7 separate regions of the Homo sapiens genome follow, and all the other regions are linked to region 7. Evidence: promoter capture Hi-C in 16 types of primary human blood cells and fetal thymus (Javierre and others, 2016). All regions are on one chromosome and are shown on one strand. Each heading gives the region's core, a stretch centred on a gene start or on the middle of the fragment in contact. The rest is flanking DNA. Distances are from core to core; before and after follow the strand shown.

Region 1 (3,502 bases), core at 894-3,393, 740 kb before region 7:
TTGAAAATATTGCTGTAGCCATTTTTGAAAAATAAAATCTGCCAAAAGGTAAAGGTAATGATTAACTTTAGTCTTATATAATCTGAATATGTATGATGGAATATAATTACTAAAAGACAAACTAGTAAAGAGAAAAAATGTGTATTGCTCAAGGAAAACAAACATCATTTATTTTAAGAAAGAATTTAACAAGGAATTAGTAAACAGGTTTTGAGAAAAGTGAAAATGTCCACTAGGGACACAAATAAAGGCAAAAAGATGGGATTAATAGAGCCTAGAAGCCTTTAAGAGATACCCTCCAGAATGCCAGAGAAAAGTTGGAGTCTGGAAACAAACCACAGCTGCTAAAACAAGAGCCATTGCTGAGGTGATACTGACAATATTGGGAGGCTAATGGGAAGGGGAAAGTCTCTTCTCCATATCTTCAGCATTCTAGTCTCTTAGTACTCTTTCTTTGCAGGACCTAAAAACAAGCCAGATGGCAAAGGAGAAGCACAGTTTGCAAAAAGTGCTAGGCACAAAGTCCCAGAATACAGATAAGTGAGTCTAGAGTTGAGAGACAATCAATAACTGGCAAAAACAGAATAATATAGTAAGTCAATACTAATTTTAAAAGGCAAGAAAACAGAAAAAGAATCACAAAATAGGTTAGACCAAAAAAACCCCAAAAACAAAAACCCTAAACTCTCCCAGAACAAACTAAAATGGCAGAAACAAATCTAAATATATTGGTAATTATATTAAATGTAAATGGCACAAGTGTTCCAGTTTAAGACAAAGATTATTCTATTAGATTAAAAATAATAACGGCCAGGTGCGGTGGTGCACGTCTGTAGTCCCAGGTACTTAGGGAGCTGAGGCAGGAGGACCACTTGAGCCACTGCACTTTGACCTGGGCAACATAAGAGGACCTCTGGATCTAAAAATAAACAAAACAAAAAACTCCACTAAAATCCTAAATCTATTTTGTTTACCAGATACACATTTAAAACATAAAGATACAGAAATATTAAAATTAAATAGATGAAAGAAGTTACTCTGTGAAAATACTGACTAAAGGAAGGCTAGTATAGCTACAGAGAAAACAGACTTTAAGGCAAAACATATTACTGATACACTGCATAGCGATATAATTCATCAGAAAAATGTAACATGTTAAACTACATGCAGTCAATAATTATTCTCAAAATATATAAACCAGAAACATATACAAGGAGAAAGAGGCAAATCAAGATCATATTGGGTGATTTTTTAACATACTTCTTTCAGTAATTGACATAATACGTATATTAAAAATCAGTAAGGATATAGATTTAAATAACACAATTAACAACCCTAAAAGATACATTAGATGGCTTGTTTTTAGATCCCACAAATAACGAGTACTAGGAGACTAGAATGCTGAAGATATGGAGAAGAGACTTTTCCCCTTCCCACTCTCCCTAATTACTACAGAATATACTGGTTTCAAATGCATAAACATTGTTTAAAAATTTATCATATTCTTGGCCATAAAGCAAGTCTCAAGTAATTTCAAATAATTAAAATCAGATTTTTTTATGACAAAAATTCAATTAAACTGCAAATCAAAAAACATAATTAGAAAAGCCCATGTTTGGAAAAAAAGAAACACTCTCCTAAAAAAGGATTAAAGAGAAAATTCCAATGAAAATTAGGAAAATATTTTAACTAAATATGACCATTATATATCAAAATTTGTGGAATATGACTATAATAGTTGAGTAAATGTGACTATATTACAATAGTATAGAGATAACTTTTAAATGTGTATGTTGAAAAGGAGGACAAGTTAAAAATGAAAGAAGTAACCCATCTCAACAAGTTAGAAACAGAATAGTGAAAAAATCCCTAATAAAATAGAATAATATTGATAAAGGCAGAAATTAATGGAATAGGAAACAAACATACTATAGAAAGGATCAACAAAACCAAAATTTGGATCTTAGAAAAGATTAAACTATTTTTGTTTGGAGTTAAAGTTATGTAGAAAATTTTAAGAAATGGGCCGGGTGCAGTGGCTCACGCCTATAATCCCAGTACTTTGGGAGGCCGAGGTGGGCGGATCATGAGGTCAGGAGTTCAAAACCAGCCTGGCCAACGTAGTGCAACCCCGTCTCTACTAAAACTACAAAAATTAGCCGAGTGTTGTGGTGGGCGCCTGTAGTCCCAGCTACTTGGGAGGCTGAGGCAGGAGAATTGCTTGAACCCAGGAGGTGGAGGTTGCAGTGAGCTGAGATTATGCCACTGCACCAGCCTCAGTGACACGACGAGACTCTGTCTCAAAAAAACAAAACAAAAAAAAAGAAAATTTAAAAAAATGTGCAAATAGTTTAGAGAATCACTACAGAGTTTATTGTTTCCAGGTACAAAAACAATACAAATAAACCAACTGTATTTTACACATAATCAACAGGAAATAATGTGGGCTAAGTAATTTGGATTAACATTCTCACTTGAAAACATTTAGAAAAGCTGGATAAAATATACTTTTCAAAGATGTAGGAAGGCAGCAGGGAGCTGATAAGTTGGTGAATAATTACCATGCCAATAATATCTGAGAAAAGATAGAAATTCAGAAAAATGAACCATTCATTTGGGACCACTGTGTTAGGAGTATTTATAGATTGCAAAAGGCCACTGGGAAGTTGAGTAGATAGAGCTAAGGGGCTAAAGATTCAAAAAGAGTCCAGGGTCAGTGAAGAGGTAAGGGCCTGGTAACTCCAAACCATGCTTTGAAACCCTGAATGGTTGAACCCTAGAAATAAGGATGAACAGAAGAGCATTACCACAGTCTGTGGCTCAGCTTTCAGTCACCTAGGTGACCTGGAAAATTTCAGTATCTGAAACTGGATCAAAATAATCCTAAATTACTAATGCAGGTACCTGCCAGAAGCAAAAAACTCTGTGGAGGATAAAAATATCATTCTGAGCATCAAGTTATTTCTAGTTTTTTCAAACAATATTGGTAAATAATTAAAGGTAACCAGGCACACAAGGAGACAAGACAGTAAGAATGAAGACTAGAACAAACAAAATAAAAACAGACCCACAGGCGGGTTTTGATTCTGGAATTATTAGACAGACTAGAAAATAATTATGCTTTTCATTTTGAAGCAGATAAGAAATTGAAAATTTCAGCAAGACAATTAGAAACTGCAGGAGTGACAAATTTACATGCTTTCAATTAGAAATATGAGAACTGAAAATACAAGGGGCTGAGAATAACCAAGATACTCTAAAAGAACAATAAGTTGGGAGGATTTGTTTGGCCAGATATCAAGAATATATCAGCTACAATGATGATGATGATGGTATACTAGCACAGGGATAGAAAAAAGGGAAAAAATGTTTAGAAAGAGATGTAAGGACTAAGCTCTGATATTTTGTTATCTTGCCCAAATTCCTGTCTAAGGAGTCTGGGGAGTCATGCTCTACAAACCATAAATTCTCATCAGATGGGTTTTATTTAACCCTGTATATT
Region 2 (3,216 bases), core at 99-2,598, 810 kb after region 7:
GGGGAAAGGATGGGAGGGGGGTAAGGCAGAAAAGACTACACATTGGGTACAGTGTATATTGCTCTGCTGATGGGTGCACCAAAGTCTCAGAAGTCACCACTAAAGAATTTATTTATTTAACCAAACACTACCTGTTCCCTAAAAACTTATTGATATGAAAAACAAATTTAAATAAAAACAGAAGGACAATATATAATGGTAAAAAATTCAATTCAACAAGAAGATCTAACTACCATTTCTACTGAGACTATTCCCAAAAATTTGAAAAAGAGAAAATTCTCTTTATCTCATTCTTTGAGGCCAGCATCATCCTAATACCAAAACCTGGCAGAGATACAAACAAAAAAAGAAAACCTCAGGCCAATATCCATGATGAACATTGACACAAAAATCCTCATTAAAATAATAGTCAACCAAATCCAGCAGCAAATCAGAAAGTTTATCTACCATAATCAAGTTGGCTTCACTCCAGGCATTTTATTTCAGTTTTTTACCTAGGAAGATTTATTGGTCAAAAATCTCCTCAATTCCATTTCTTGATTTAAAAACAATATAGCTAGCGGAACTCTTACCCTTGAGAATATTTTAAAATATTATACGTGCCTTATTTTGTATTAAGTAATTGCTTTTTATGAAGTAACTTCTGAGATTTATTTTAAAATTTTACTTCAGAGTGTACCTGTAAGTTATGGCCAAGATTATAATTCATGATAGAAGACACAGAATCTCCCAGAACTTGGTTTTTTATTTGAAAAAAAAAAAAGATCTGTGCTGCATAAATGTATGTGTATGTATCTTATGAGGGAAATTTCAAACTAGACAGCTAAACACTTTGGTAATGGCCAAGACAGAATTCTTTTTATTGTAATCTGTAAAAATAAGTAGAGAATATAACTTTAACTTTACTATTTAGCCTGAAGGAATTCTGTCTGTCACCATATTTAACTAACATAAGGGGAAATGAAAAACAAATTCTGAAAATATTTTTATATACCAGCAGCATTAGAAATTCAATAAATCAAAATCAAAACCCCAACAAAAATTAAAAACAAACAAACAAATAAACACAACTGTGTTATTAATGGAGATATTTTAAAATATTTAAGAATAATATTCTTACAAATATACAGCAGCTTACATTTTTTCATTTATATATGATACATTGGACTTTGTGGACTTGGGGGAAAGGATAGGAGCAGGGAGGGATACAAGACTGCACATTGGGTACAGTGTACACTGCTCAGGAGATGTATATAACCCCCAAAAGCTTTGTTTGCTCTAAATAAAATTTAAATAGAAATAGTTGAATTCATTAGCTCATTATTAATACAATTAGTATTAATCAACCTTTAATCAATTAATACGATTATACTTAGCTATACATTTGTATTAATATTGTGTTAAATTTATAGATAAATTAGAAGAAAAATAAGCTTTTTCACTGCAAAACAGAGATCAGGAAACTTTTCCTGTAAAACCTCAGATAATATATATTTTAGATTTGCAAGTCTTATGGACTCTGCTGCACATATTCTGTCATTGTAGTGCAAAGCAGCTACAGACAATACTTTAAAGAATGGGCATGGGTATGTTCCAATAAAACTTTATGTACAAACAGGTATTAGAGACACCACTAAAACCAATGCTGTAGAGAAATTTTAAATTTTTCATTTAATTTCATTTAATGTTTTCATTTCAGTTATTGCATTGTATTCTTCAGCTCCAGGATTTCTGCTTGTTTTTTTTATGGTTTCTATCTCAATGATATCTCATTTTCTTCATGTAATGTTTTCCTGAATTCATTTATTTCTATTTCAGCTGTTCATTTGTAGCTTACTGATGTTTTTAAGATAATTATTTTGAATTTTTTGCCATATAATTTATAGATCTCAATTTCTTTATTTTTAATTACTGAATATTTATTTTGTTTCATCAGAAGCATCGTATTTTCCTATTTTTTATGCTTTTTATATCTTTGTTTTGGTGTCTGTGTATTTGAGGAAGAAGTCACCTCTTCTACTATTTATGGACCTGATTTGGAAGGAAAATGCCTCCTCAATCAGGCTGACAGAGATTCTGGAAGTCTTCAAAACCTTTCCTATAGATGTGCTCTTCATACCTCTCTCCTTACTGATAAAGATCAGAATTATATGTCTTACCCAATCCCACAGAGCCAGTCTGAGTCCTAAGAACTGCCCATTTCTTCTCCCTAGGGCAGTGCATGATATAAGGCCTATATCACTTAAACTACAAATAAATTAAGTGCATTATGCCATTCCTGCATTGCTAGAAATAAATGCCTGGGATAGGGTAATTTATAAAGAAATGGAATTTAATTGGCTCATGGTTCTGCAGTCTTTATAGGAAGCCTGGTGCTGGCATCTGCTTGGCTTCTAGGGTGGTCTCGGGACCTCCTACCATCATGGCAGAAAATGAAGAGTGGAGGGATGGGGCAGGCACGTCATGTGGTAAAAGCAGGAGCAAGAGTCAACCTGGGGATGGGGAAAGGTGTCACATACTTTTAAACAACAAGATCTTACATGAAAACTCACTCTAGTGAGGACAGCACCAAGCTATGATGCATCCGCCCCCATGATCCAAACACCTCCAACCAGGCCCCACCTCTAACATTGGGAATTGCTATTCAATATAAGATTTAAGTGAGGACAAGTATCCAAGCCATATCAGTAGGCAAGTAAACAATTAAAGGAAATGGATTATAGTCATTAGAAACTGATGATAAAGATAAGCTTTTTTTCCTGGAAAGCATGAATAAGAGATAAAACATAACTTCCAGGATCACTTGTAAACCCCTTCTGTGTCTGGTATAATTATTATTATATTGATTTACTTTTCTTCTATGTAGGCTTTTCAGATTCCTTTTCAGTAAATATTTCTTTCACATCTCTCAAAACAATTAGGGTCAGAGAGAGTTTACACCTCCTTGATTTTTTGTAAGAAAATAAGTGCCTTTGTTAAGTAACTCCAATCTACATAAATAAGAACTTTATGCACACTACTCTTCATATTGAAACAATGGCCAATGTGATGGTGTTATGAAGTGAGGCCTTAAAGAGGTAATTAGGACATGAAGGTTTCTTGCTAGTGAATGTAACTAAGGCCCATATAAAGGAAGCTTGATGCAGTGTTTAGCCTTTTTGCCCTTCTAACTTACACCATGTAAGAACACAGTATTCCTTCTTTTCAGAGGATGCA
Region 3 (3,619 bases), core at 765-3,264, 760 kb before region 7:
GAACTCTTCTCCCACCCAAGCTGACTTACCATGGGGCTAATGATATAGCTAAGCACTTGACATATATCATCCAATGTAATTGTTATCATTACCCTGAGGTAGATATTGTTATGCCTTTTATACAGGTGAGATAATTGGTATTTACACTGTTCTGAACCAATGAGAATGTGGTGATGTGGCCTACATTCCAGGATGCTGAAAAAGAGAATATAGCTCTGTGATTTTAGGCTGCAGTAGTGGGAAGATTGAGTCAGGAAAGTTGTCTCTGGATATCTTAAATAGAACTGGTGGGTCTTGAAGATATTTATATTTACCTAGTTCCTCTGCTTCTCCAGGTCCATTGTGTTGATCAAGTAGAAAAAGGAACAGTGTGGTTGAATTTTTTATATTTTGGTCATAATTCTTAGAGAGCAAGGTAGCTGCTGATTCATAGAGCACACTTACATCTTTGCCATAAGTGCCTCCCAAAGCTTCTCAGTTATCAGATCCATTCCTGACTAGACTTTTAAAATAAAATTCAATAAAGAAGGCAGAAAACTAGATTGCTAAAGGATAATCCAAATAACTAAGTGACTACAAGCAATGGACAAGGAAGAATAATGTGTCATCTTTGTAACTGGGTAAACTGGGGCTCATTTCTGTCATTAGCTCATACAGTCTACAGTGTAAGGAAAACTAACAGCCTGGATTATTCTTTCATTTTTCACCCTCCCCAACCATACTCCTCAACCCCTCAGTAAGGTTGTATTTTTGTGATTTTTTTTTTTAGAGACAGGGGTCTTGCTGTGTTGCCCAGGCTTGAGCACAGTGGCTGTTCACAGGCACAATCATAGTGCCAGCCTGAAACTCCTGGGCTCAAGCGATCCTCCTACTTCAGCCTCCCGAGTAGCGGGAACCACAGGTGTGTACCACTGCGCCTGGCTCAGGAATTCTTTTTCCTCTTCAAGGTTATCTGGTATATTTATTCTGATTTCATTTGTATAAAAATATTAGTTTAGGGGTAGAGACACATTTTATCTACTCCTAGACCGGCAAATTATCCTGTTACAATAAAATACTAAAATGCTTAAATTCTCTGGTTTTAAAGGTTATTTGCTTTAAAGCATAAGAAACCAACTACAGCTAACTTAAGAAAAAATAAATTTATTATAAGAACATAGAATGACTGGAAGGGTAGCAAACCTTCAGGGACTAGGACGCAGTTACTTGTGCTAAGAACCATCTGATTAGGAAACTGGATCCTTCTTTGTTCTTCTACTCAAGTTCAAATTTCAGAAAGAAAGCATTTTCTAGCTAACTTGAGTCACATTTTTTGCTCCCCTCATTTTTTAAGGGACAGGGTCTTACCCTGTCACCCAGGCTGGGGTGCAGTGGCACTATCACAACTCATGCAGCCTCGAACTCCTGGACTCAAGGAATCCTCCTGCCTTAGCCTCCTGAGCAGCTGGCACTACAGGTGTAAGCTACCACACCTAGCTAATTTTTTCAATTTTCGTAGAGACAGGATCTCGCTATGTTGCTCAGGCTGGTCTGAAACTCCTGGTCTCAAATGATCTTCCCACCTGGACTTCCCAAAGTGCTGGGATTACAGGTGTGAGCCACCACACTTGGCTTACATTCTTATGCTTTAATTGAGGGAGAGCAAGGTACCTAACTATTGTCTACCAGATTGTATTCAATGGGAAAGGTGGTAATTCCTCAACAGAGAATGGACACATGGTCAATTAAAAAGGATAAATAAGACACAGGGATAGGTAAAACTATGGTCATACAGTAAGCCATTGAAGTGAAGTAATGACAGTAATCTCCATTAGATTCCAGTTGAGCCTTCTCTTACTCTATACTTATGCAGGTGATGCTGAGTTTTCTCTCACTCTCTATTAATACAGGTAACACTCCCAAACCTTTTCAGTGTCATTGATTATTTTGTGAAGGAGACTCGAGGAAATTTAAGACCATTTATATGTTCAACTGATGAAAACACTGGTATGTTTTTCACTTCATTGCTATGTTAAGGGAAACAAAACAAAACAAAACAAAATCCCCAAAACTCTGCATATGATTGATAGTACCAGCCAGGCAGGAACTGTAGTTCAGTCTTTAAATTTATCCATTTGGAAATCATTTTGTCACTCAGTCTGTGAAAATAGGAAAGTACCAATATGTATTATGAACAGAGTATGGGTGCATTTTAGGGAATGGAAAACCCTGAGGTATGTAGTATTACTATTAACTTCATTCTATCATTCTACTCAGCTTTATCTAACAAATTCAGAGGTAAGAGGAAACCATAATCATACAAGTTAATGGAAACCAAATGGAATTTAAAGGGATAGTCTGTCAACAACGTTAGATGCGTAATACAGGATAAAATGAATGAAGATTAAGAAGAGACGATGAAAACTGGTGATTAGCCAATAGATGACTTGAGAGAGAGAAGTTGTATTCCACTATGAAGGCAGAAGTCAGATTGCAAAATAACAAGGAATGAGTGGGTGGTGAGGAATTACAGATAAAGATTGTAGCTAGGACCAGCTACAGAATTTGCCAGCCCCTTGTTCATAAATTAAGAATTTCAAAAACAGTTATAGCAAACCATCAAACCGAGCATGAGACCCTATGCAACTGCACAGTTTACACACCCTTGAAACTGGCTCTCTTTGCAATCCAACTTCTGGCAGAGCAAGCCAGGCTGAATGTAATAGTCTCTCTCTATCTTATGCAACAGTTCCTGGTACACATGGTCACTGGCAAACTGTAAGCAGGAGAGAGAAAATATCTCCAGCTTGTGTGGATTTTAGTTATCAAAACAAGTCTCTTTTTCTACAGATTATGGGGGAAAGCAACCTTATTTGGCTATCTGCATTGGGGCATATCTGGATAGTCTTATTAATTAAAAGGATAGCAAGTTTAAAAGTCCAAGTTCTTAAAACATGATTATGAATATTGTGATGCTAAATAATAAGAGTAACCAAAACCACAGACTCTCAGGATCTGAAGGAACTTTAGAAAATTATAGTATCTTATCTGTTTAGAACTCACCTGCACATTCAGTACAGGAAACATCTCTAGGATATGACCCCTTCAGCTTGTTTGTAAATTGTGAATGTAAGAGGGCTTAAATTTGATTTTTGAAGCAGCACAGTTCACTTCTGGACAGTTCTCATATTAGAGAATTCTTCCTTGATATTGAGTCTGAAGCATTCCTTCAACTTCTACATATTAATCCAATTTCTGGCTTTGAAACAATACGACTTAAAAGGCCATCAAATATTTAAAAATGTCTACAATGTCTTCCCTCAGTTTTTTACTCTCTGTCATCTAAATTATTGGTTCCTGAATTTCTCTTACTCTCATCTTTGATGTTCTTTTTACATTGTCTAATTTTTAAACTTGTCACTTAAAATATAACCCTACTGAATAATAATGTTGAGCATCTTTTTATATGTTATTTGCCATTATATATTTTATCTGGGAAAGTATCTATTTAAATCTTTTGCCCATATTTTTATTGGGTTGTTTTTTCTTTCATGCTTGTTTTGAGAGCTCTGAACCGATACAAGCTTTTTGTGTGTGTGCATGTGTGTGATTGGGAAGTATTTTCTTAGTGGGTGATTTG
Region 4 (3,471 bases), core at 220-2,719, 780 kb before region 7:
GACTGAGACGTATCAGGTATATATTGGGCATCTGGATTTCAGACAAGAAAGAGAATCTCTTTGCCTAGTTTTATAACTACTTCTTTGAGGACCATTTATTGGCTGATCCTTCAATAATATGCCCTTTTGAATTGTTCTTTTCTATGGTAATTTGTTCCTTGGTTCAAGAGGCATCAGCAGGTTCATTGCATGTTATAACCAGTTCTCAACTGGGGGGAGGATAGAGTGAAAACACAGCAGGGCTTGAACAAAGATACCTTGTCCCAAATTCCAATGTGCCCCTGAGGTTGATTGCTGCAGTCACACTACCAATTTGTTCAAGTCTTACTGTATGTACCTCTCTTTGAAATATGACTTTTCTGCTCATCCTATAAAGAGGCTGAATCTATTTCTCTAATCTTTATTTTATGTTTCAAAATTGAACTTACAGCAAACAATAATTTTCTAGCCTTTGAATCTGGATTGGGTTATGTGACATGTGTTGGTAAATGTGACACAAGCAAAGTCTTAGAATAAGCTTGCCCATTGGGTTTTGCTCTCTCTTGTTCCTGGTAATCCTTCTGCCAGCATGTGTCAAGTCTAGGCTAGCTGACTGGATAAAAGAATGGATAGAGTGAGACTCCAGTTGTCCCTCCCTTCCCAGTCATTCCTGCCTTCCCAGCTAAGACCCTAGACAAGTAAGTGAGGCCACCTTAGACCATTCAGCCATAGCCAAGCAAGCCCAGATCAGAAAGGCCGTCAGCCAACCATAGAATGGTGAGAAATAGAAATCATTTGCTTATTTTAGTCCACTAAGTTATAGGGTGACTTGTTACATGGGAGAAGCTAACTCATATATTATCTTATTAGGCATGAAGACAAAGAAAGAAAAGAGTTCTACCAAGAGCATAAGAAAAAAATGGTGATTGTAGTTCAAAATGAATTTAATCTTGAGCTTCCTGGTAGCCAGGGAATTAAAAGCAAAATTGAGTTATAGAGTCGTCATTATTTGAGAAAATAAGCATATAAATTCTGAAGAGTCGACAAACATTTTACTGGTTAAAAAACATAAAGGATATGTTAATATTGAAGAGACACAAAATACCATAAGACAAAGTATCTTCACATGCACAATAAAAGAGAAAACCCTTTATATAACTTTCTTATATTAATCGCCAATATCATGATGGTTCAATAAGTTGTAAAACATCAGCTTATCAAACCATAAAGGAAGGAATGATTAACATGTTTATTAAAATAACAGGAATTTTTTTAAAACACACTTTTGGGAAAAGCTGCATATGAAAGTAAATCTTTAGATGTGAAAGGATTTTATTTTTAAAACTTACTTGCCATTCTTTTGTAATATAGTCACTCTTCATATTTATTTAAATAAACTTAATTGAATGAAATGGGAGTTTAACTAGGTTATTTAAATATTTTAAACTTCAAAAGTCATATTTCTGTAGAATCTAGAGTAATATGAATGTATTAATAATTAAATATTCACCACATCAATAAGATTTGGATTTTAAAGTTCAGCTTTGATGGTGTTCAATTATCAATTTCTCACATTTTCTTGATCTGTCAATAATATATACTATTTACTGAACCCCAGCTATGAGCCATGTACTCTGCTAAGTGCTTTACATGTATTAATTCATTAAATTATTTCATCTGTCCTAGAAGGTAGATATTATATGCTTTTCCTATGCTGGGCCCTTCACTGGTCCATCTGACATGCGTAGGCTTCCACTGAAATTGCATAAAAAGTCTTAAATCAATGAGGAAAGTTTTAGAAAATGAACTACTTAAACACAAATCAAATTACAGTGATGAGTCACTTAACAATGGGGATATATTCTCAGAAATGCATTGTTAGGTGATTTCATCATTGTGTGAACATCACGGAGTATACTTATGCAACCATAGATGGTATAGCCTATTACACACCTAGGCTATATGATATAGCCTATTGCTTCTTGGCTACAAACCTGTATAGCATGTTATTGTATTAAATACTGTAGGCAATTGTAACACAATGATAAGTATTTGTTTATCTAAACATATCTAAACATAGCAAAAGCAGAGTAGAAATATGGTATAAAAGAAAAAATGGTATACCTGTATAGGGCACTTACCACAAATGGAGCTTGCAGGACTGGTAGTTTCTCTGGGTAAGTCAGTGAGTGGTAAGTAAATCTGAAGGCCTAGAATATCATCAGATACTACTGTAGACTTTATGAACACTGTACACTCAGGCTACACTAAGTTTATAAAAAATGTTTTTCTTTTTCATTAACAAATTCATCTTAGCTTACTGTAACTATTTTACATTATAAACTTGTTTAATTTTTGACTCTTTTGTAATAACATTACCTTAAAACAAAAACACATTGTACAGCTCTGCAAAAATATTTTATTTCTTTATATCCTTATTCTATAAGCTTTTTCTATTTTTAAAATTCTTTATTTTATTTTTTTTTACTTTTTAAGCTTTTTGTTTAAAACTAAGACACACATACATTAGCCTAGGCCTACGCAGGGTCAAGATTATCAATATCATTATCTTCCACCTTCATATCTTATTCCATTTTGTGTGTGTGTGTGTGAGATGGAATCTCGCTCTGTCGCCCAGGCTGGAGTGCAGTTGCATGATCTTGGCTCATTGCAACCTCTGCCTCCTGGGTTCAGGTGATTCTTCTGCTACAGCCCCCTGAGTAGTTGGGATTACAGGTGCACGTCACAATGCCTGGCTAATTTTTGTATTTTTAGGTAGAGATGGGGTTTTGCCATGTTGTTCAGGCTGGTCTGGAACTCCTGGCCTCAAGGGAGTCGCCCACCTCAGCCTCCCAAAGTGTTGGGATTACAGCGTGAGCCACCAGGCCCAGCCCCAGTGGATGGCCTTTAGGGGTAATAACATGCATGGAGCTGTCATCTCTATGATAGCAATGCCCTCTTTAGAAATACCTCCTGAAGAACATGCTTGAGGCTGCTTCACTGTTAGTTATGTTTTTTCAAAGTAGAAGTAGTATACTCTAAAACAATGATTAAAAAGTATAGTATAGTAAGTACATAAACCAGTAACATAGTCATTTATTAATCATTAACAAGTATTATTTACTGTACATAATTATATGTCCTATATTTTTGTTTGACTGGAAATGCAGTAGGTTTGTTTGCCAGCATCACCACAAACACCTGAGTCATGCATTGTGCTACAACATTATTGACAGTTGATACGAATTTTTCAGCGCCATTGTATCTTATGGGACCACTATCATATAGGCGGTTTGTCATCCACCAAAAGATCTTTTTGTGGCACATGATTGTATATCCTTATCTGAAATGTTATACTAAAATAAACTTGAGAATGATTTAATCAAGTGGTGGCATGGGCCTGTAGTCCTAGCTACTCTGGAGGCTGGAGTGGGAGGATTGCTTGAGCCCAGGAGTTCAAGGCTGCAGTGAGCCATGATTGTACCACTACGC
Region 5 (3,718 bases), core at 1,111-3,610, 850 kb before region 7:
TACTTTGTCCAGTCCCATCAGAGGAATCACTACTTGTGGCAGCTACTGCCTTACAAAATTTATTTCTTAAATAATAAGACTTAAAAGTCCAAATTATTCCTTGATCCATGCATGAGCTGCAGAATGAATGCTCTCTTAGTAGGCATGAAAGCAACATTAATCTCCTCATCTTTGTCCATTAGAGCTGCTGGGTGGCCTGGTGCATTGCCATGGATGTGCTGTCACCCAGGCTTTGTTGTTCTACTAATAGAGCAAAGTAGATTTAGCATAATTCTTAAGGACTCTAGGATTTCTGGAATGGTAAATGAGCACTAGCTTCAACTTAAAGTCACCAGCTGTATTAGCCCTTAACAAGAGAGTCACAGCCTGACCTTGGAAGCTTTGAAGTCATGCATTGACTTCTCCTCAGCTATGAACGTCCTAGATGACATCTTCTTTCAATAGAAGGCTATTTTGTCTACAGGGAAAATCTGTTGTTTAGTAAAGACACCTTCAATTATCTCAGCTAGATTTTCTGGATAACTTGCTGCAACATCAGACCTTGCTGCTTCACCTTGCTCTTTTATGTTATGGAAACAGCTTCTTTCCTTAAACCTCATGAACCAGCCTCTGCTAGCTTCAAACTTTTCTTCTGCTGCTTCCTCACCTCTCAGCCTCCACAGAATTAAAGAGAGTTAGGGCCTTCCTCTGGATTAGGCTTTGGCTTAAAGGAATGCTGTGGCTTGTTTAATCCTCTGTCCAGACCACTGAAACCTCTATATCAGCAGTAAGGCAGTTTCCCTTTCTTATCATTCATGTGTTCACTGTAGTAGCACTTTTCTTTTCCTTCAAGAACTTTTCCTTTGCATTCACAAATTGGCTGTTTGGTGCCCGAGGCCTAGCTTCTGGACTATCTCGGTTTCTGACATGCCTTCCTCACTAAGCTTAATCATTTCTAGCTTTTGATTTAAAGTGAAAAATGTGTGACTCTTTCTTTTACTTGAACACTTAGAAGCCATCGTAGGGTTATTATTGGCCTAATTTCAATATTGTGTCTCAGGAAATAGGGAAGCCTGAAGAGAGGGAGAAAGATGGGGAACTGGCCAGTCAGCAGAGCAGTCAGAGCACATGAATTTTCACTTTCTTAAGTAGCTGTGGTTTGCGGTGCCCCAAAACAATTACAATAGTAATGTCAAAGATCACCTGATCACAAATCACCATAAAAGACATAGTAATGAAAAAGTTTGATATACTGTGAAAATTACCAAAATGTGACACAGAGACACAAGGTGAGCACATGCTATTGAAAAAAAAAATGGTGCCAATAAGGCTTACTCAACAAAGGGTTGCCACAAACCTTCAATTTGTGAAAAATGCAGTATCTCCAAAATGCAGTGACACAAAGCACAATAAAACAAGGTATGCCTGTATAAATATAAATATAGAAATAGATATAGATGCCTGTATTGTATATGGTGTGTACATATGTGTATGTGTGTGTGTATATATATATCTATTTCCTATCTCTGTACACTGAGAAAGACTAGAAGCAATGGTATCCCAAACAAGGATCACGTCAAGTGCCCAAATCTTGGTTTCTAAATGCCATCTTCCACTAAAAAGAACCAGGTTTCCTGGAGCAGTAATTGATCCCAGAGCTGGGGCAGGAAAAAGACTGGAACATCTTATGCCAAAAAACAAAGACAGTATTCACAGAATCATGACAAAAGCACACAGAGACCAGCTGAAAGAAAATCCAGTGACCAAATCTATCACAATTCAAGTATCATAATAAATGGTCAAGATTTTACAACCCCATGGCATAAAATAGTAGTAGTCCATACTGATATAAATAAAAAGAATCATGAATAAAATAATTGGCATGCGGGAGAAAAACTGGCAACTAATTAATGCGGAAGGAATTAAAGAAACAGAAAATAGAAAATAATGTGGTACCATCATTAGTGGCTGATAATTCAAGTGGGAGTCTTGAATGTATGTTAAGGTTGGTGAATGGAGGTTTGACAAGAAACAGGCTATTAAGAGTATCAGAATATCACTCCACAATAATATTTATCAATTATAAGAGAAAAGCAGTGTCTTTACAGTAGAGAAACCTGGCAGACAATAACATGAACAGGTAATCAGGATTGATATCATGTCAGCAGGGCATGGTGGCTCACACCTGTAATCCCAGCGCTTTGGGAGACTGAGGTGTGCAGATCACTTGAGGTCCAGAGTTTGAGACCAGCCTGGCCAACAAGGTGAAAGCCTGTCTCTACTAAAAATACAAAAATTAGCCCAGCATGGTAGCATGTGCCTGTAATCACAGCTACTCAGGAGGCTGAGGCATGAGAATTGCTTGAACCTGGGAGGTGGAGGTTACAATGAGCTGAGATCACACAACTGCACTCCAGCCTGGGTGAGAGAGCAAGACTCCATCTCAAACAAACAAACAAACAAAAAACAAAAGCATCATGTAGATGGGTGAACGTTGTGTGCCTCCTGTGTGATGCACAAATTACATCCCCTAACTCCTAACCCTATAGCATCATTTCTGTAGTATTCCTGTCAAATATGAATGGCACACATTTGATCATGAGTTAAGTTAGGAAAAAAACTAAGAAACTGTTCCATGTTGAAGGAAACTAAGGGACATGGCAGCTAAATGCAGTCGACGATCCAGGACTGGATCTTGAACCAGGAGGAAGAAGAAACTCTGAGATCCAGGACTGGATCCTGAGCTAGAAGGGAAAAGGAACTGCTAGTGAAATCTGAATGGAGTCTGTGAATGAACCTGTGTTGTATTAATGCTGATTTCCTTATTTGTATGGTTCGAGGGTAGTTATATCCTTGTCTTGCTGAAATACATTATGGGGCATTTAAGGGAAATAATATATCATGTCTACAATTCCCTCTCAAATAGTTCAGAAAAAAGATGTATGATAATAGACGTGTATTTATTAGAGGAGGCAGGGAGGGAGATGGAAAAATGTTGTAAAATGTGGACAATTGTGAAATCTTGATGAAGGGGATATGGGATCTCTGTATAAGACTGAAATTATTTCAAAATAAATTATTTTTTAAGTGACTAACACAAGGGACAACTCCTAAATTTCAAAGATTAAAGGATCCTAGTAAGTATGGAGATGGAAGAAAACAGGTTATCTACAAAGGAAAGAAGAAATAAGGCTGCCTTCAAATTTCTATTCATAAGCATTAACTCTCATGAAGCAAAATAGCAATACGGTGATAGTTTAAAGAAAAAAAGATCATGACTCAAGATTATGTTCTCTATTTAGCTGGTGGTTCATTGTGTTTAAAAAGAAAAAAAAAATCCTGAGTCCTTGCTAGAATATGTGAGAATGTCTACCAACTTTACAAAGAAGTAACAAGTATATCTGTTGACAATAAGTGTATATATATTAAACAATTTATTAAAGGAAAAAGTACTGACACAGCGAGTCAAAAACAATTCAATCATATGCTGTTTCTTAGCCACTTTTAATTCTCTAATAAAAGTTAAATAAAAAGATAAAGAAACAACAACCAACCAAAAGAAAGCAGAAGTCACAATACTAATATTAGACAAAACAAACTACAAAGTAAAAAGCATTTAACACAACGAAGCAGATAAATTTGACCAAAGCAGGTACACTCCATATGAAGGCTTATGTGATCAGTAACAGCACTGAAATGTACATAACAAAGACTACAGAAAATACAAGGGCAAAGACAG
Region 6 (3,551 bases), core at 14-2,513, 870 kb before region 7:
CCAAGGCTGATGTGCTGTTTGTGTCTTACTTTTTAACAAAAAAGTTTTAAAAGTTAAAAAAAAAATAGAAAAAAGCTTATAGAATAAGGAAATAAAATATTTTTGTACAGCCAAACAGTATGGTTGAATTTTAAGTATTACAAAAGAGTCCAAAAGTTAACAACAACAACAAAAGGATATAAAGTGAAAATGTTACAGTTAGATGAGGTTTATTACTGAAGAAAGAAAAATTCTGTTTATGAATTTAGTGTGGCCTAAGTCTACAGTATTTATAAAGTCTACAGTAGTGTACAGTAATGTCCTAGGTCTTCACATTTACTCAGCACTTACTCACTGACTCATCCAGGACCACTTCCAGTCCTGAAAGCTCCATTCATGGTAAGTGCCCTATAAGGGTAACATTTATCTTTTATGCCACATTTTTATTGTACTTTTTCTACATTTAGATACACAAATACAACTGTCTACAGTATTCAGCACAGAAACACGCTGTACAGGTTTGAAGTACAGAAGCAACAGGGTATCATCCTATATAGCCTAGGTTCGTAGTAGGCTATATCATCTTATGACGTTCATAAGACAAAATAGCTTAATGACTCATTTCTCAGTAACACATAGCTGTAATTTGTTAGAGCAGCAACTGAAAACTAATACAGATGTCCCCAACCCCCAGGACAGGGACCGCTACTGGCAGTGGCCTGTTAGGAATGGGCTCACACAGCAGGAGGTAAGCAGCACGCCAGTGAGTGTTACTGCCTGAGCTCTGCCTCCTGTTAGATCAGCAGCAGCATTAGATTCTCTCAGGCACATGAACCCTATTGTGAAATGTGCATGTGAGAAATCTAGGTTGTGTGCTCCTTATGAAAATCTAATGCCAACTCCCACTGCCACCACCAATTTTTGTGGAAGAAAAATTGTCTTTCACAAACCAGTCCTTGGTGCCAAAAAGGATGGGGACCATTGTAATACAGGAAGAGATTTCTTTTATTTTTCCTTATTTTGTTTTTCCTTATTACTTACTGGCTTATGAAAATTCTACAGCCACTGTAAAGATTATCACCTACACTATAAAGATTATCACCGCACTGGGCGCAGTGGCTCACGCCTGTAATCCCAGCACTTTGGGAGGCCTAGGTGGGCGGATCACGAGGTCAGGAGATCGAGACCATCCTGGCTAACACAGTGAAACCCCATCTCTATGAAAAATACAAAAAATTAGCCAGGCGTGGTGGCGGGCACCTATAGTCCCAGTTACTCGGGAGGCTGAGGCAGGAGAATGGCGTGAACCTGGGAGGTGGAGCTTGCAGTGAGCTGAGGTCACGCCACTGCACTCCAGCCTGGGTGACAGAGCGAGACTCCAACTCAAAAAGATTATCACCTACACTAAAAAAATACCTAGGCTTTATGTATGCCTCTTTAAAGGTCACATGCTTAGGACAACAAACTACTCAATCTGATTGAAGAATCAAAGAAAGCAAAAAGCTAAATCCCTATTCCCCTCAAAATCATATGTTAAACAAGCATCAAGACTAAGAAAGTAAAAGAGGATAAATCTCTCAATCATGCTGGCTTTCATATTCAAACATGCCAAATTTCATACTTTATACATAGGTAGCACACACTGGCAGTGACCTGGTTTTTTGAGCAACTAAAATAAACAGCATAAGGCCTTCAAACTTTGAGATTCAGCCATTGTTAGAAATTAGTTTGTCTCCTGAAAATTCACACTCTGGAATCTTAACCCCCCCAATGTGATGGGATCAGGAGGTGGGGAATTTGGGACGTAATTAGGTCCTGAGTGCAGAGCCTTCAGGAATGGGACTAGTGCCCTTATAAGAGACACAGATCAAAGTCTATGGTATTCTTATTATAGCAGCCCAATCTGACTAAGACATCCATCAAGAATGTTTTGCCTCAGATAATTATTTCTCCTCCTTATTTTTTATTACTACTTTGTACAATGATCATAATATACCAGAATAACAATAACAGCTAGCACTTATATAGCACTTACTCTATACCAAGCAGTATTATGAGAACTTTATTCTTATTCACTTAATGTATATGCCCACTAATGAGACAGCGACTACTTTAGTAGCTTTTTATGGATGAAGAAACTGAGGCACAGAGAGGTTAAGTAATTTTCCAAGGTCACAATGTAAATGGCAAAGGGGGGGAGTTTGAACTCAGGCATTTAGATTACAGAATTCATTCCCTAATCACTGTGATATACTGCCTCCCTAAATGGGGAAAAAAGCCCCCCGAAATGTTTCAAAGGTATTTTTATAACTTAATAAGACAAAAAAAGTTATTACATCCAAAAATAATTTGCCTTAATCAAAAAGACAAAAAAGTAATACTAAAAAGTATATATTTCTAGTGTTTTTTTCTCATCTATTCAATTTGGTTCTCTAAGCACACCTCTCCTCATTTCTGTAAACATTTAATTAAGAAAGCTTTTGAAACATACAAAAATAGAATGATGAACTCTCATGAATACTTAATGCTAACCACCTGCCCAAGCCAGAGTCTACTATCCTCACTCCATCTTATTTCAAAATAAATGCCCAGTATCATAATTCATCTGCAAATATTTCAGTATGTACTGAAAGATCAAGTGCTTCTAAAAAACATAACCGCAATACTGTTATCACACCTAAAAAATAAATATTTAATACCAAATATCTAGTTAATAGTCAAATTTCCAATCATCAGTTAAACATATCTTCAAGGATTTCTTTGAATCAGGATCCAGGTTAGCACCACATACAGTGATTGGTTGATCTGTTTCTTAAATTTCTCAATCAATATTAGCGGTTCTCAATCAAGGTGATTTTGCCTCTCAGGGACAACGGACAATTTCTGAAGACATATTTGATTTTGTCACAACTACAGTGGTGCTACTGGAATCTAATGAGTAGAGGCCAGGTAAGCTTCTACTTACAGGGCCTTACCTACAGGACGGCCCCCACTACAACAAAGAAGTATCTAATCAAAAATGTTACTAGTGCCATGGTTGAGAAACCCTGATTCCCTAGGTTTCACCTGGTTCTTTTTTATTTCTTACATTTAATTTATTGAAAACATTAAGCAGTTTGTCATAAAAATCTTCATGCAGGTGGATTTTGCTGACTACATCCCCAGGTATCATTTGAAAGATTTCACCACACTTTATTTCTTGTAAACTGGTAGTTAAATCTAGAGACTTGATCAGATTCAGGTTTTGTATTTGCTTTTAGGTTTTTTTTTTTTTTTTTCTTTTTTAAGGCATGGGGTTGGCAAGACTACTTCTTGGATAGTGTTGTATTTTTCTATCAGGAGGCACATAATGCTTGGTTGTATTCTTTTTAGTTATCTGTCAGCCACTGAGCCTTGATGCCTAGATCCCAATAGCTTATCAGGGATTGCAAATGGTAGTATTTTAACTCCAACATTCCTTCTTCACTCATTAGCTGGAATATTATTCTAATAAGAACAAACTCATCTATTATTTGATTACCTAATAGCACAGTTTATATAGAAAAGGCAGAATCAGTTGTTAAAGTGAGTTG
Region 7 (3,233 bases), core at 83-2,582:
CAAATCAATTAGGCACACAGAAGAGATGTGTGAGACACAGAGCAGCGACCGTGTCATATTTTTAACTATAATCTTTCCAAGACTATTATGTTAATCTTAGGGTTGAAAAAGATCTTAAAGCAGCATTTAATCTAGACCACTCTCCAGAGAGACACTGATCTAGGACCTACATTAATATCTCTAGGGCTTGGGAACTTAGTATTACTATCTTTCCATTACAGCAACGTCAGTTCTCTCTACATTTCACTGAAATTTATCCCTCCAACTCTCTGTAACTTGCATTCATTTGTTTCTGACTGTACCCTCTGGGAGCTACACACGGTTTTTCTAACATAATAGCACCCAGGATTTCTTTGCCAGCCTAAGTCACACAGTCATCTTTCCAAACTAAGTATTCCTTTTTCCAAGTACTATGTTTTTCCAAAATAAGTATTCGAGGAACAAAACGGGTAATTCACTTTGCCTATTTAACAGGAACAGCCAGAAGTTATTTGCAGATATTTCTCAAGATTAATAACCTGCCAGTGCCACTTCCTAAACTTGCTCACTTACCACACCACCAGTGTTGATCGCGGCATTAGGGGTTTTCAAATTTTAGCCTAACAGAAATGGTTGTCCTGAAAATACGCGTTACATCCGCATGATCCTACCAGGAAATAAACCTAGGAGCTTGCAACTCAGAAAGGGCCCCTCTCAGCCCAAGACAGCTAAACGGAAAGTCAAGCGTGAAATCCGCATCAAAGAAAAACCCTACTGAGATGAAGTGCTAGGCCATATGGAGACTGAGGACGAAAGGGCAGGCCTGGTCTCCGCCAGAGTCTAAGTGTCTCGGTGGGGGCCACCGGCTCCTCGCGAGGCCAGCTAACCTCCCCAACCCCCACCCCCCACCCCCAACGACGACCACTGCTCCATCACCCCACTCCCGGGCCCCAGCCTCGCCTCGGCCCGTCATCTTTCTCCGCACTAACCTTTCTCCTCCCGACTGTCAGCCGCCATGGCTCCCCTTCGGTTTCCGCCGCTGCCACCGCCGCCGCCGCTTAGACGCGACTCGCGCGGGCGCCGCAGCCGCGGCAGAAGCACGGGCCCGTCCGTCAGTCCGTCTGCCCGGATACGCGCGTCGCACTTGGCCTCTTAACACTCAGCCTTCTCGACTCTTCCCGCTTTTTCCCTTTCTCCCTTCCTTTCACTCCAGCATCCAGCGGCCTAGGCCCAGCCTTCTCGTTAGGGCTCAGACTCGGGCTAGGTATGGGGGAGGGAAGGGAAACAGATGGCGACGGCGGGCGGCGCTAAAATGGAGCCTGCTTCCTGCGCGAAACAATCCCGCTCCCGAAATGCCCTGCGCTGTTTACGCTTCGTTCCTCTCTGGGAACGTCACAGTGCGGAGAGGGGCGGGGAGGCGGGGACGTGCAAAGGAACGTGACGTGACGTCAGCGCGTCGCCCTGCCGCCCTCAGCCCACTGGTACCTGGAAGGAGTCTTATTCAGGGATTAGGTTACCCAGGTTGTTCATGGAGTTCCCGCTGTACGGCCTATAACTGGATGGCGCAATTTTCCCACCTGAAACTCTTAGTGCAGGGCCTAACAGGCCTTCTTAGCTAGAGTCGCTCTAAAGGACTCCTGATTCAGTTCGGGTAATCGGAGTCTTATTTAGGACAAGTCTGGGTGAATCCCTTATGTTTACCAGATGTACTTTCTTAGTTGGAGTTCCACTCTTACCCAAAGGCAGTGCAGCATGCAACCAGCTTGTTTGTAGTCACAAAAGCCTGCTAGTTTTTGTTTGTTTTGAGACGGAGTCTCGCTCTGTCGCTAGGTTGGAGTGCAGCAGCGCGATCTCGGCTCACCGCAACCTCCGCCTCCCAGGTTCAAGCGATTCTCCTGGCTCTGCCTCCTGAGTAGCTGGGACTACAGGCGCCCGCCACCACGCCCAGTTAATTTTTTTATTTTTAGTAGAGACGGGATTTCACCATGTTGGCCAGGATGAAGTGCTGGGATTACAGGCGTGAGCTACCACGCCCGGCCTAGTTTTGTTTTTAATTGGGGAAAGAATTGTATCATAATAGGTCTTTGTAATTAATAACTAATTTAAACATGTTATCAAGGCCCTGGGGCACAAAATTGATTTAAGCAGACCATCGAGGAATCGAAACTACAGAATAAATGACCAGTAGATACATAACTACATAGTGTGGTAAAATCTGCAAGAGAAACTTGCTTAAGATTCATTGTCCAACGGAAACAATCTAATTTTGCTTCCTTGAACTATAACTGAGTTATAAGGGAAAGAAAAATCTGAAAAAGGTAACTAAGTAACTTCGTGATATGAAGACAAACTGGCAAACTAACTGCATATTCAGGGAAAGACAAGTAGTCTAGAAGTCTAGAATGTGGTACCTCTTTTTTTTTGAGACGTGGTCTCACTGTGACACAGGCTGGAGTGCAGTGGTGTGATCATGGCTCACTGCAACCTTGGGCTCAAGTGATCCTCCCACCTTAACCTCCCAGGTAGCTGGAACTACAGGCATGCTCCACCACATCCGACACATTTTTTGCATTTTTTGTGGAGATATACCATCTCCGCAAGATGGCTAACACCTAGCCATCTTGCCCAGGCTAGTGTCTAAATCCTGGGCTCCAGCAATCCTCCCACCTCGGCCTCCCAAAGTGCGGGATTACAGGTGTGAAGCCACCAGGAGTGGCCCCATTTCTAGGACCTTAATTGAACACTAATTTGAATATACGAACACGCACACGCCACAAACACACACACACACACACATTAAATAATATCTGATGATCCTGAGGAATTGCTATTTGTATTTTTAGTTTTAATAAGTTTTGCTTTTTAAAGAATTTCTTATAATTTCATGATTCATATGAAAATATTTGCAGGCCAGATGCAGTGGCTCATACCTGTAATCCCAGCACTTCGGGAGGCCCAGGCGGGCGGATCACCTGTGGTCAGGAGTTTGAGACCAGCCTGACCAATATGGTGAAACCCCGTCTCTGCTAAAAATACAAAAATTAGCCAGGCATGATGGCATGCGCCTGTAGTCCCAGCTACTCGGGAGGCTAAGGCAGAATTGCTTGAACCCGGGAGGCGGAGGTTGCAGTGAGCTGAGATTGTGCCACTTTCACCCCAACCAGGACAACAGAGCTAGACTCTGTCTCAAAATAATAATAAGAATAGTAATAAATATTTGCAAATGAAATTATATGGTATCTGGGATTTATCAA

What was found. The method cuts DNA at HindIII sites, captures the fragments that hold promoters and counts their contacts. A CHiCAGO score of 5 or more calls a contact.
Region 1: a contact is called between a fragment that was not itself captured here and the fragment with the promoter of YTHDC1 in region 7, in 1 of 17 cell types (total CD8 T cells). The highest score is 5.2, in total CD8 T cells.
Region 2: a contact is called between a fragment that was not itself captured here and the fragment with the promoter of YTHDC1 in region 7, in 1 of 17 cell types (megakaryocytes). The highest score is 6.4, in megakaryocytes.
Region 3: a fragment that was not itself captured here is called in contact with the fragment with the promoter of YTHDC1 in region 7 in 1 of 17 cell types (fetal thymus); the score reaches 6.9 in fetal thymus.
Region 4: a contact is called between a fragment that was not itself captured here and the fragment with the promoter of YTHDC1 in region 7, in 2 of 17 cell types (activated CD4 T cells and total B cells). The highest score is 5.7, in activated CD4 T cells.
Region 5: a fragment that was not itself captured here is called in contact with the fragment with the promoter of YTHDC1 in region 7 in 6 of 17 cell types (total CD8 T cells, monocytes, naive CD8 T cells and 3 more); the score reaches 6.7 in total CD8 T cells.
Region 6: a fragment that was not itself captured here is called in contact with the fragment with the promoter of YTHDC1 in region 7 in 1 of 17 cell types (naive CD8 T cells); the score reaches 5.2 in naive CD8 T cells.

The regions. Positions count from the first base shown.
Region 1 is chr4:67,610,302-67,613,803 of GRCh38, forward strand. UBA6 (ubiquitin like modifier activating enzyme 6) reads right to left here. Exons shown (of 33, transcript NM_018227.6): 33 at 2,351-3,502. Among named protein-coding and RNA genes, the nearest start is that of STAP1, 53 kb to the left of the region's middle. The HindIII fragment of the contact is 4,333 bases long and covers 1-3,502 here.
Region 2 is chr4:69,157,808-69,161,023 of GRCh38, forward strand. No RefSeq gene overlaps it. Among named protein-coding and RNA genes, the nearest start is that of UGT2B11, 55 kb to the right of the region's middle. The HindIII fragment of the contact is 166 bases long and covers 1,266-1,431 here.
Region 3 is chr4:67,591,371-67,594,989 of GRCh38, forward strand. It overlaps STAP1 (signal transducing adaptor family member 1), which reads left to right. Exons shown (of 9, transcript NM_012108.4): 8 at 1,890-1,986. Among named protein-coding and RNA genes, the nearest start is that of STAP1, 34 kb to the left of the region's middle. The HindIII fragment of the contact is 3,093 bases long and covers 469-3,561 here.
Region 4 is chr4:67,567,158-67,570,628 of GRCh38, forward strand. All of the region lies in intron 1 of STAP1 (signal transducing adaptor family member 1), which reads left to right. Among named protein-coding and RNA genes, the nearest start is that of STAP1, 10 kb to the left of the region's middle. The HindIII fragment of the contact is 1,909 bases long and covers 516-2,424 here.
Region 5 is chr4:67,498,884-67,502,601 of GRCh38, forward strand. The region is part of intron 12 of CENPC (centromere protein C); the gene reads right to left. Among named protein-coding and RNA genes, the nearest start is that of CENPC, 45 kb to the right of the region's middle. The HindIII fragment of the contact is 2,878 bases long and covers 922-3,718 here.
Region 6 is chr4:67,483,729-67,487,279 of GRCh38, forward strand. All of the region lies in intron 17 of CENPC (centromere protein C), which reads right to left. Among named protein-coding and RNA genes, the nearest start is that of CENPC, 60 kb to the right of the region's middle. The HindIII fragment of the contact is 2,381 bases long and covers 74-2,454 here.
Region 7 is chr4:68,348,758-68,351,990 of GRCh38, forward strand. YTHDC1 (YTH N6-methyladenosine RNA binding protein C1) reads right to left here and starts at 1,333. Exons shown (of 17, transcript NM_001031732.4): 1 at 969-1,333. The coding sequence starts at 996. RefSeq lists an enhancer at 702-1,281. The HindIII fragment of the contact is 7,711 bases long and covers 1-3,233 here.